3 separate regions of the Homo sapiens genome follow, and regions 1 and 2 are each linked to region 3. Evidence: promoter capture Hi-C in human tissues and cell types (Jung and others, 2019). All regions are on one chromosome and are shown on one strand. Each heading gives the region's core, a stretch centred on a gene start or on the middle of the fragment in contact. The rest is flanking DNA. Distances are from core to core; before and after follow the strand shown.

What was found. Contacts are between HindIII fragments. The study calls those that stand out against the background at their distance.
Region 1: a fragment that was not itself captured here is called in contact with the fragment with the promoter of ASB18 in region 3 in 3 of the 25 tissues and cell types used here (aorta, mesenchymal stem cells and spleen).
Region 2: a contact is called between a fragment that was not itself captured here and the fragment with the promoter of ASB18 in region 3, in 3 of the 25 tissues and cell types used here (dorsolateral prefrontal cortex, liver and spleen).

What each region holds. Positions count from the first base shown.
Region 1 is chr2:236,314,119-236,317,673 of GRCh38, reverse strand. It overlaps a transcript of DRC11 not described here. Among named protein-coding and RNA genes, the nearest start is that of ASB18, 51 kb to the right of the region's middle. The HindIII fragment of the contact is 5,156 bases long and covers 1-3,555 here.
Region 2 is chr2:236,217,917-236,221,444 of GRCh38, reverse strand. All of the region lies in intron 3 of ASB18 (ankyrin repeat and SOCS box containing 18), which reads left to right. LOC124908000 (a long non-coding RNA gene) reads right to left here. Exons shown (of 2, transcript XR_007088137.1): 2 at 1-538. Among named protein-coding and RNA genes, the nearest start is that of ASB18, 45 kb to the left of the region's middle. The HindIII fragment of the contact is 3,997 bases long and covers 67-3,528 here.
Region 3 is chr2:236,262,662-236,266,235 of GRCh38, reverse strand. ASB18 (ankyrin repeat and SOCS box containing 18) reads left to right here and starts at 1,830. Exons shown (of 6, transcript NM_212556.4): 1 at 1,830-2,095. The coding sequence starts at 1,891. The HindIII fragment of the contact is 6,526 bases long and covers 1-3,574 here.

The DNA.
Region 1 (3,555 bases), core at 162-2,661, 52 kb before region 3:
TGTATGCTTTTGTTGAATTATGACACAAGCACAGAAAAGGGCTCAACTAGCAAAATGTAAAGTGGAGATGCTCCCAGCTCCTGAGAAGCCCTTCTCCTAATCACTGCCCTCTCCATTTGCAAAGGCAACTATTGTCCTGATTTCCAGCATCCTAGGTTACTTTTAGCTGGGTTTGAACTTTATGTACATGGAAGTAAAGAGTGTGTATTCATTTCCGTCGGGCTTCTTCTAGCCAACATTAGCTTGTGAGACTCCTGCAGCCTTGCAGGCAGTCGCAGTTCGTCCACTTCCATCACTGCGTAGTATCTCCTTGTAGATGCCATACTTAGGCTTCCTATTTTACTGTTAATGAGAGCCTATCTTTTTTTTTTTTTCCCCCGATATGGAATCTCACTCTGTCGCCAGGCAGGAGTGCAGTGGCGCGATCTCAGCTCACTGTAATCTCTGTCTCCCAGGTTCAAGTGATTCCCCTGCCTCAGCCTCCTGAGTAGCCGGGACTACAAGTGTGCACCACCATGCCCGGCTAATTTTTTGTATTTTAGTAGAGACGGAGTTTCACCATGTTGGCCAGGATGGTCTCGATCTCCTGACCTCAGGTGATCCTCCCACCTCGGCCTCCCAAAGTGCTGGGATTACAGGCGTGAGCCACCTCGCCCGGCTGAGCGCCTATGATTTTTTCTTCAGTTTGCGGCTATTATGAATGATGCTGCTGTGGACATCTGTGTCTGTCTCTCTGCACACATGTGCACACACTGCTGTTTGTATATGCCTGGGAAGACAGCTGCTCGCCCCAGAGCATCATCACATGTGGTCGCAGTGCCACCAAGTTTACTGCGTTGGCTGCTCCAATTTCCCTGCCACCAGCGATGCATGCAAACTCCCACTACTCCACATCCTTCCAACTTGGTGTGGTCAGGCGTTTTCATTGTCCCCACTCTGGAGTGTGTCGTATCTCACAATGGTTTTAATTTCCTCTTTCCTAATGACTACTGGGGTTGCACATCTTTTCATATGCATAGTGATCACTTGAATATTACCGTACTTTTTAATAAAACCCGCTGAGTTGGTTGTCTATTTTTCCATTGGGTTGTCTATTTCTTTCTTATTAATTTTATACTTTTAGTGAGAAGCTGTTTGCAGGTGCATGGTTGTGAATATTGTCTCCCACTCTTTAGCTTCCATCTCACTGTCATAATGGTGTCTTTTAATGAAAGTTCTTGCGGTGGCTCATGCCTGTAATCCCAGCACTTTGGGAGGCCAAGGCAGGTGGATCACCTGAGGTCAGGAATTTGAGGGCAGCCTGACCAACATGGTGAAACCCTATCTCTACTAAAAATACAAAAATTATCTGGGCGTGGTGGTGGGTGCCTGTAATCCCAGCTACTCTGGAGGCTGAGGCAGGAGAATCACTTGAACCCAGGAGGCAGAGGTTGCAGTGAGCCAAGATCGCACAATTGCACTCCATCCTGGGCAACAGAGTGAGACTCCATCTCAAAAAGAGAGAGAGAGAGAGAGAGAGAGAGAGAGAAGAAAATAAGTTCTTAATGTTAAGGAAACTTGGCTTATCAACTTTGTCTTTGTGGTTACAGTTTTTTTGTGTCCTATGTTAAGAGTTCTTTGCCTACCTCAAGATTATGACACTATTGTTGCTAATAGCTTTCAGAAGCTTTTATTTTAAGTTCCAGGTACATGTGCAGGATGTGCAGGTTTGTTACATAGGTAAATGTGTGCCATGGTGGTTTGCTGCATCTATCAACCCATTACTTAGGTATTAAGCCCAGCATGCATTCCCTCTTTTCCCTAATGCTCTCCCAAACCCGCCGCCCTCCGACAGGCCCCAGTGTGTGTTGTTCCCCTCTTGTGTCCACGTTCTCATTGTTCAGCTGCCACTTGTGAGAATATGCGGTGTTTGGTTTTCTGTTCCTGCGTTAGTTTGCTGAGGATAATGGCTTCCAGCTTCATCCATGTCCCTGCAAAGGACATGATCTCATTCCTTTTTATGGCTACATGGTATTCCATTGTGCATATGTACCACATTTTCTTTATCCAATCTATTATTGATGGGCATTTGGGTTGAGTCCATGTCTTTGCTATTGTGAATAGTGCTGCAATGAACATACACATGCATGTATCTTTATAATAGAATGATTTATATTCCTCTGGGTATATACCTAGTAACGGGATTGCTGGGTCAAATGGTATTTCCAGTTCTTAATCTTTGAGGAATTGCCACAGTGTCTTCCACAATGGTTGAACTGATTCACATTCCCACCAACGGTGTAAAAACGTTCCTATTTCTCCCCTTTTCAGAAGCTTTATTGTTTCACTTATCACATTTATATCTGCGAGTTTACCTGGAATTGATTTTTGTTCATGGTTCAAGTCTTATTTCAGAGCCATATGAATATGTGATTGACCCAAAGCTCCAGCACCATTTCTTGAAAAGACTGTTCTTTTCCCAGTGCTTTTCAGTGCCCTCTATCATTGAAAACAAGTATTTAAAAACAACAACAACAATGAAAACAAGTGTTTATGTAGACAGTGATTTGCTTACAAATCCTCTATTCTGATCTACTGCATCTGTCTATCATTCTGCCAATATCACATTGACTTGAGCACTGTAGCTTTACAATAATGGTTTGCATCCATAGAGTAAGTCATCCCACCTTGTTTTTCTCCAAAGTGTCTTAGATATGCTTGACATTTTGCACTTCTAAAGGAATTTATAATCAGCTTATGCATTTCCACCAAAAAACTAATATTTTAATGTAAATTATATTGAATCTATAGATCAATTTGAGAAGAACAGACATCTTTACATTATTGAGTTTTCCAGTCCATGAAAGTGATATTTCCCAGCACTTGTTTTAGCCATTAAATTTTCTTAATGATGTTTTGTAATTTTCTGTGTAGATATCTTACACATCTTTCCTTAGATTCACTTCTAGATATTTGATAATTTTCCGTTATAAATTTCATTTTTAAGTTTTACTTTATACCTGTTTGTTGCTGGTATATAGAAATAAAATTTACTTTTTGAATTGGTTGTATATCCAGCAACAAGTGAAACTTATTATCTAATTTTAATTATTTGTTTTTAGATTCTGTGGTGTTTTTAAACGTCCATAGGCATATTGCCTTTGGAAAATTACAGTTTTATTTATTTGTTTGCAATTCTCATAGCTTTTTGTTTCTCTTGCTTTATTGCACTGGCTTGGCCATTTAGTTATGATGTTGACTAGAAGTGATCATAGAAGACATCCTTGTTTCAGACTTCAGCAGGAAAATGTTCAACATTTTATCATTAGGTACAAAGTTTTGAAACTATACTTTATCACATTTCGTGTGCTAAGAATGTTTATCATGTATGGTTGTGGACTTGTAGCAAATACTCTTTCTGCCTCAATGGAGATGATCACATAACTTTCTCCTTTTGTTACCATGTTGATTTTATTGAAGGATTTTTAATTGAATTTTTAGTGAGATATCAGAGAGATCCTGCATAGGTGCTGCCCAATCTCCCCCAATGGTAACATTTTGCACAATTATAGTATA
Region 2 (3,528 bases), core at 816-3,315, 45 kb after region 3:
CTCCCACCGGGTCCCTCCCACAACACATGGGAATTATGGGAGTAAAACTCAAGGTGAGATTTGGGTGGGGACACAACCAAACCATATGAGATGTTTAACATTACTAACAAAATGTTCAGAAGCAATGTCCCTTTCCCCACTCACACACAAAAGGTGACGTTTGAGTCTTGAATGCAGCCTTATTTTTAGCAGCTGTTTGTTGTTGTTGTTGTTGTTGTTGCATTGCTCAGTCAGCATCATCTTTTGGTGGTTGTGGAGTCCTTGTATTCACCACTGGATAGTGGGGGCTGGAGTTCATATCCCAAACAGGACACACTGACTGCAAGGCCACCATCCTCTGCCGGGCCCTGCCCTTTAGACCACTGCTTAAACCTCAAAGATGAACTCCTCACCAAAAAGGAGGGAGGATGCCATCTACCGTGCCAGGTAGCTAGGAGGACTGGGTGAGAACCGGTTACTGTGCCACCCCGTAGAATGAGGTCCATGGGTCGCCTTGCCCTGCCTTCAGTGTCCTGTCGGTGAGTCTGTCCAGGAATTCCTGTGGAGTGATAAGAGGAGAAACACTTCTCCTTACCTCGAAAGGAGCATGGCACATGTTCTCTGCTTATTGAATGAATGAAAAGGTCACTCATAACTTGTGGAAAACGCCTAGAACAGAACCTGCCTCAGAGAAGGTGCTTAACAAATAAAACCAGTGGGAAGGGGCAGTGGAGGGGTGTGTGACTGACAGTGGGAAGCCTCATGAAGCAACGAGACCTCTGCTTTGCCACTTCCTGCCTTATGCATGTCACTGGCCTTTTAAGCCTCAATTTCCCCAACTGTAAATTCCACCTACAATGCAAAGTTGTTTCAGGGACTAAAGATAAATAGTTGTTTAAAAAAAAAAAAAAAGGCCAAGTACTGGGGAATCCAAAAGACCTTTCAGTTCAGAACCAGGAGGCAGAGAAGCAGCATTTCCAGGGCTTTGAATAAAGAGGGTGATCAGGAGGCAGGGGAGACGAGAGAGTGGAAGCCTGGACAGGCTCTGGCTGAGAGAAGAGGTATCTGGGCAGAGCATGCAGGGAGCATGGAGGCTTGGCAGGCAGCTGAGACAGGTGGGAGCAGGTGGGTGAGACAGGTGGGTAAAGGAAGGAGGAAACAGTGGGAGAGCCCAGGCTGAGGCCTCCAGGCCTTGTGCCCTGGGAAGGGACTAGGAAAAGCCAGTGCTTTGGGAAGGTGCTGGAGGGTGGATGGGAGGGTGTGCAGGGAGTGGCCAAAGTCCCACATCCCCCCACCCCATAGACATGAATTGGAATGACATTGATTCAACAGTCCTTGATGGGTTCATCTCTATTAACTCCTGCCTTTTGGCTCAAGTTACTTTTTCTTTCTGCTGTTAACCCTGGGCCCCTGTAACAACCTGTCATTGCAGTCATTATCGAAAACAGAGATGAGGCACCCAGAGATTAATGTGTTTGTCCAAGTTGCTTCATATCAGAAGCTGTTGAGACAACATGGTGTCTCCTTAATCCTTGCAAGATAAAGACAAAGTTGTTCTGACATCCTCAGATGGGAATTCTACCCTTAGATCCCAACGGTGACTGTTCTACCCTGACCCCAGGCCTTTCTGACTTTTGCCTTTCTATCAGGACAGCAGGAAACCCACTCACAAAATCTTGCCTTGGAGTAAAAGGCTCAGCCAAGGCTGGGTCCCAGACATAGACCTGCAAAGGCTTCAGGGATGCTTTCCCTACTGAGCTATTTCTTCTTCCACTGGTGGCATTGATACAGAGAAGGCAATGAAATGACAAACAGTAAGCTTTCCCCACTGGGCCATTTCTTCCACTGGTGACGTTGATAGGAGGGATTGAAATGATAGTGTTTCAAGGATGGGCCTGGGTCCTGGGGTCAGGTCTGAGAGGTCCCCACGATTGTTATCACTGAGTAGCTCCCAGCCAGCCCAGGCCTCTCCTCTCCTCACCTTCTCATGGGCATTGCCATACATACGTTCCAAAATGCTGCTTATACCTAAACAGATTGATGGAAATTTCAAGCGTATTCTGGGAACCTGGAAAGCCAAAGGGATATTCTTAGGATCCAGGAGCTGTTGCTGGAGCAGGTGGGGATGGTTTTGTTATTAATAACCTCTGTTGTGGTTCTTGTATCAAACTGCACCTTGACTTATTTTGGATAACTTGAAAAACGCATGCAGGCAAAAAGGAAACAAGCTCCCACTATGCCCATCATCCAGAGATAAACACACATTGCCCTCTAAATTTCTAGGTTTTTTGGCAGGGCACGGTGGCTCATGCCTGTAATCTCAACACTTTGAGAGGCCAAGGTAGGAGGATCACTTAAGCCCAGGAGTTTGAGAGCAGCCTGGGAAACATAGCAAGACCCTGTCAATACAAAAATAAAACAAAAAAAAATTAGCCAAGCATGGGGGCACTCGGCTATAGTCCCAGCTACTTGGGAGACTGAGGCAGGAGGATTGCTGGAGCCCAGAAGTTCAGGGCTGCAGTGAGCCATGATCACGCCACTGCACTCCAGGCTAGATGATAGAGCAAGACCCTGTCTCTAAAAAAATTAATTAAAATTAAAATTAAAATCAATTAAAAAATAAAATGAAAAATTTCTGGTTTCTTTTTCTTTTTTTTTTTTTTTTTTTGAGATGGAGTCTCATTCTGTCACTCAGGCTAGAGTGCAGTGGTGTGATCTTGGCTCACTGCAAGCTCCGCCTCCCAGGTTCACGCCATTCTCCTGCCTCAGCCTCCCCAGTAGCTGAGACTACATGCACCCACCACCACACCTAGCTAATTTTTTGTATTTTTAGTAGAGACGGGGTTTCACCATGTTAGCCAGGATGGTCTCTATCTCCTGACCTCGCAATCCGCCGGCCTTGGCCTCCCAAAGTGCTGGAATTACAGGCGTGAACCACCACATCCGGCCAATTTCTGGTATTCTTCATATACGCATAGATATATTTAAGCTTTTTCAAAATGGGACTGTACAGTGGTGCTATTTTGTAACCTGATCTGTTCACATCCACTGCAAATGTATTTCCATGCCATTAAATAGGCTCTCACACCTTCATTTTTAATGACTGCCACCGTGTACCAGCAGACGTGCCCCAGTCAATTTGTTGTTTCTTTCCCATGCCCGTGGTTCTGCTACTTAAATCATTGCCCACTCTAAAAAAGTGCCAAGGTTTAGCCAACTAGAAGCTCTTCATTAAAAATGAAAAGAGCATCTGCAGCCCTCCAGAGGGTGGGCCAGTGTCCTCATTCCTCTGAAAGGTATCTGTGTTGCAGATAGCAGCCTGGCCATTAGCCAGCTAGGCTGTGCACGTGGAAAAGCCTGGCCATTACCCAGCTATAGGCTGTGCACGTGGAAAAGGGGACTGGTCATATTTCCCTGTGGACTTCTTTAGAGAGGCTGAGCTGCTTAAAAAAATTTTTTCTTTAAAAAGAAGAAAATGTTTTGTAATTGTTTGCAAGTGCACACAGGCTCAGTGGCAAAACGAGAAGGAACCCTTGATTTCTAACGTCC
Region 3 (3,574 bases), core at 581-3,080:
CCAAGAATGCCTTCAGTTGTATGTAACAGAAAACACACAGAAAGTGCTTATGGCATAAAGACAAGAGGTCTGGTGGCTGGGGCCCCAGAGCTGGGGCAGGGGTTCAGAAATGTCATCCCCAGTCTCTCCCCCGCTTTCCATCCCACTCTCCTTTCTGTGTTAATCCTTCATTTCATATCTGTTGCCTCCCAGCTGTGATGTGGCTGCTGCACCTCCAGATATCATGTCCATGTTCAAGGAAACAAGAACAGGAAAGGGTGTTGCCAGTCACTTCTGTCCCTCTTGATCAGGAAAGCACATAACTTCCCAGACTCACCCCAGCAGCCAGAACTGGGTTGCAAGGGAGACTGGACATTGAGTGCAGGCAAAGGAGACTGGGACTGACACTACTGACCTAAATCAACATGACTCATCCCCAGGGGCTGGGCACAGTGCCCCCACCAAGAAAGCCAGGCTGTGTTGGGCAGGTGGAAGGAGAATGGATGTTGGGCAGGAACTACAGTGCCTGGCACCTCAAGTGCAGATGGAACAGAAGCTGGAAAATCACACAAATGAGCTGAAAGGAGGAAGAGGGTGTATTAGTCAGTGTTCTCCAGAGGAACAGAACCAACAGTTATGTAGGGAGAGAGAGAGAATTTCTCTTCAAGAATTGGCTCATACTATTGTGCAGACTTGGTAAATCCATCATCAGCAGGGTGGGCTGATAGGCTGGAGACCCAGGGAAGACCTGAGGTTGAGACCAAAGGCTGTCTGCCGCCAGAATTCCTTCTTGCTCAGGGAAAGTCAGTCTTTTGTTCTATTCAGACGTTCAACTGATTGATGGAGGCCCACACACATTAGGGAGAGCCATCGGCTTCACTCCAAGTCTGCCGGTTCAAGAAATTCTAATCTGATCCCAAAAACACCTTCATAGAAACATCTAGACTAGTGTTGGGCCAAGTCTCTGGGCACTGGGGTCCTAGCCAAATTGAGACATAAAATTAAGCACAGGGGAGAAGAAAGAAAGTAAGGAATGGAAAAGATGGCGAGATAGAAGGCAAGGCGAAGGAGGCCCTGTAAGCTCCACGGCCCGCCCTGGGCCCTCAGAGACCACAGCACACTTGGCATCAGCAGAGAAGCTTCAGGCACAGCTGTGCTTATGCACAGGTTGGCACACAGAGACCCAAGCACACTGAAGACACAGGTCAAGGAGAGAAAGCCCCACCTTTGCCCCTAGGAGTGCACAGAAATCCCCCTGAGGGCTCCACACTTCCACAAGTCATGGAATTATAGGCTTTGAGCAAAGTTTACCAGCCTTGAGGCATAGGGAGGTCACAGGTAATATTTAGGTTACTTTTTTTTGTTTTTCTGTGATGCTTCCGTCTTCCTGAGATCAGCCAGTCCTTCTCTGCATTTGGAAACCAAAGATTCCATTCCATTCTATGCGTTTGAGGCATGTCCAATTTGCAGGTGACCAGACGCTCCTTTTAGAGGAAGTGAAGGAACACAAGGGGTAGAATATTAGAAAATGTTCCTTTCCACAGAATAGAGGTCCAAGCCCAGTGCCAGGAAGAGGTTTTCAAAGTTTCAGGAGAGAGCCTCACTTTTGATAAAAGAAGATATTATTCAACAATACCCATGAAAGCTGTCTTTGAAAATATTGTCTCTCCTTCTTGCACCACTCACAAACATGTCTGCTGCCCCCATCTCTAGAATAATCCTTTGCTGAGGCCTCTGGAAAGATTACTTCACACCTCCCTGCTGGCAGGTGGCCCTCCGCAGGGACTGTAAGAGGAGCCAGGGTGCTGCTATTTATAGCAGCCCCCACGCCACTCTCACGGACAGCTGCTGACTTTGGAGTCGCTTTAGAGGAAGAAAAGAAGGGCTGGTCACTGCAGAAACGACGTAACAATGTCCAACTCGGATTACCTTCCCGACTACCCACTCAACTCAGATTTAGTGAAGAGATTAAAGTCTGCCCTGGATGCCAAAGATGAGGAGAGAGTGAGGGATTTAATCTGCACTGAAATCACGCCTGTGGACGCTGTGATAGAACTGGCCAATGACGACTGGATGAAAGACCCCTCGGCTCAGCTGCCCACCGGCATGCTGCTAGGTAACCAGAACGAGCCTGCTGCATCTGGGATTTAATTACTAAGTTACACTGATGGGGTGGGCAGATCCTGGAGGTAGAGGGGCAAATGTTTGGAAAAAGTAAATGATATGTACTCGGATATCTGACTCTCATACATACATGCATATATGTGTACTGCATAGACCATGTACATGCGTGTGCGACATAAGCAACAAGTGCAACACAACACAAAAAAACTAATCCTACCACAGTGGCTGCTCTGTGGCTCCATTGTTTTCCAAGCCTGTCCATTTGCGTGTGTAAATTTCACCCACTGATAACCATATCATACACATAATTGTGTGTTCTGCTCCCTTGAGATCTACAAAATCTAAATCTAAAGCATTTTCCATGTTGCTACATAGTCTTCCCAATTTCAATCCCCTACTGAAATACTTAAACCAAATGCCTACAAAAAGATAGTATTTGGTTACCTTTTTGCTTCTATAAATAATGCTGTAACGAACATCTTTATTAGGATTCATACGGCTTTTTTCTTTTTTGGGATTATATCCTTACCATAAATTCCTAGGAGCCATATAACTGGAACAAGAACATAACATTTTTTCAAATTGTATTGTTTCTAAATTGGTTCCAAATTGTTTTCCGCAAGGGTTTCTGTTCCCTCTGACAGTGAGGTGATGTGTTTCACCACAACCTCACCAAGGAGCATCACTGGTAATGAATGTTTGTATTAAATTGCCATTTGATAAGCACACACTGGTAATTCTTCACTGCCTGTCGCCCATCCTTTCTTTGCAGGTCTGGACAAAGTCTTGTCCATAGGATTTTTTCTTTGTAGGCCTCATCAGGTGCAAGACCTGTCTATTTGGGTCTTGGGCAGGAACTCTCCATCTCTTGGAATCATTTTTATCATTTTGTAGGACTTCTTCACGTAACATAGACATCATCCCTTTGTTAGGTTTCCTGAAAGTGTTTTCCTGACCTGTGATTTACTTTTAGTTGTATTGTGCTGTTTCCCAGCTTGTCAGATTAGGGGACAAGGTTAGTCTTGGCCTCTAAGGGATGCTGAGGGCTCCTTTCCACCCCCATTCTCCCTCCCAACATAGGTGCACACACGCACACGCAAGTACATGCATCACATGCACACGTGTGCGCAACATGCAGGAGGAACACAGATGGGACATGAGTGGGAGTTGCTGCTAGGGAATGGAGCTTGCAGGGTGCTGAGGCGAGGAGTCTGAGATTGGAACTTCCGAGGGGGTCCGCCCCCCCCCCTTGGTTTGGGTCTACTTTCTGGGCTGCCTTTCAGTGGGGACTTAAGCAAGTCGCTTTAGGGAGGAACCTTCTCTTGCTTCCTCTTCACCTTGGTTTTCCTAATATCTGGCGGGGGTCCATAGGCCCAGGAGCCATGATCCCAAACTTGGTACCTTCCATCTCTCTAGAAGATTGCCCTGGGGGGGGTTTAGGGGAGGTTGTCATCACAAGCAGTGATTGGAC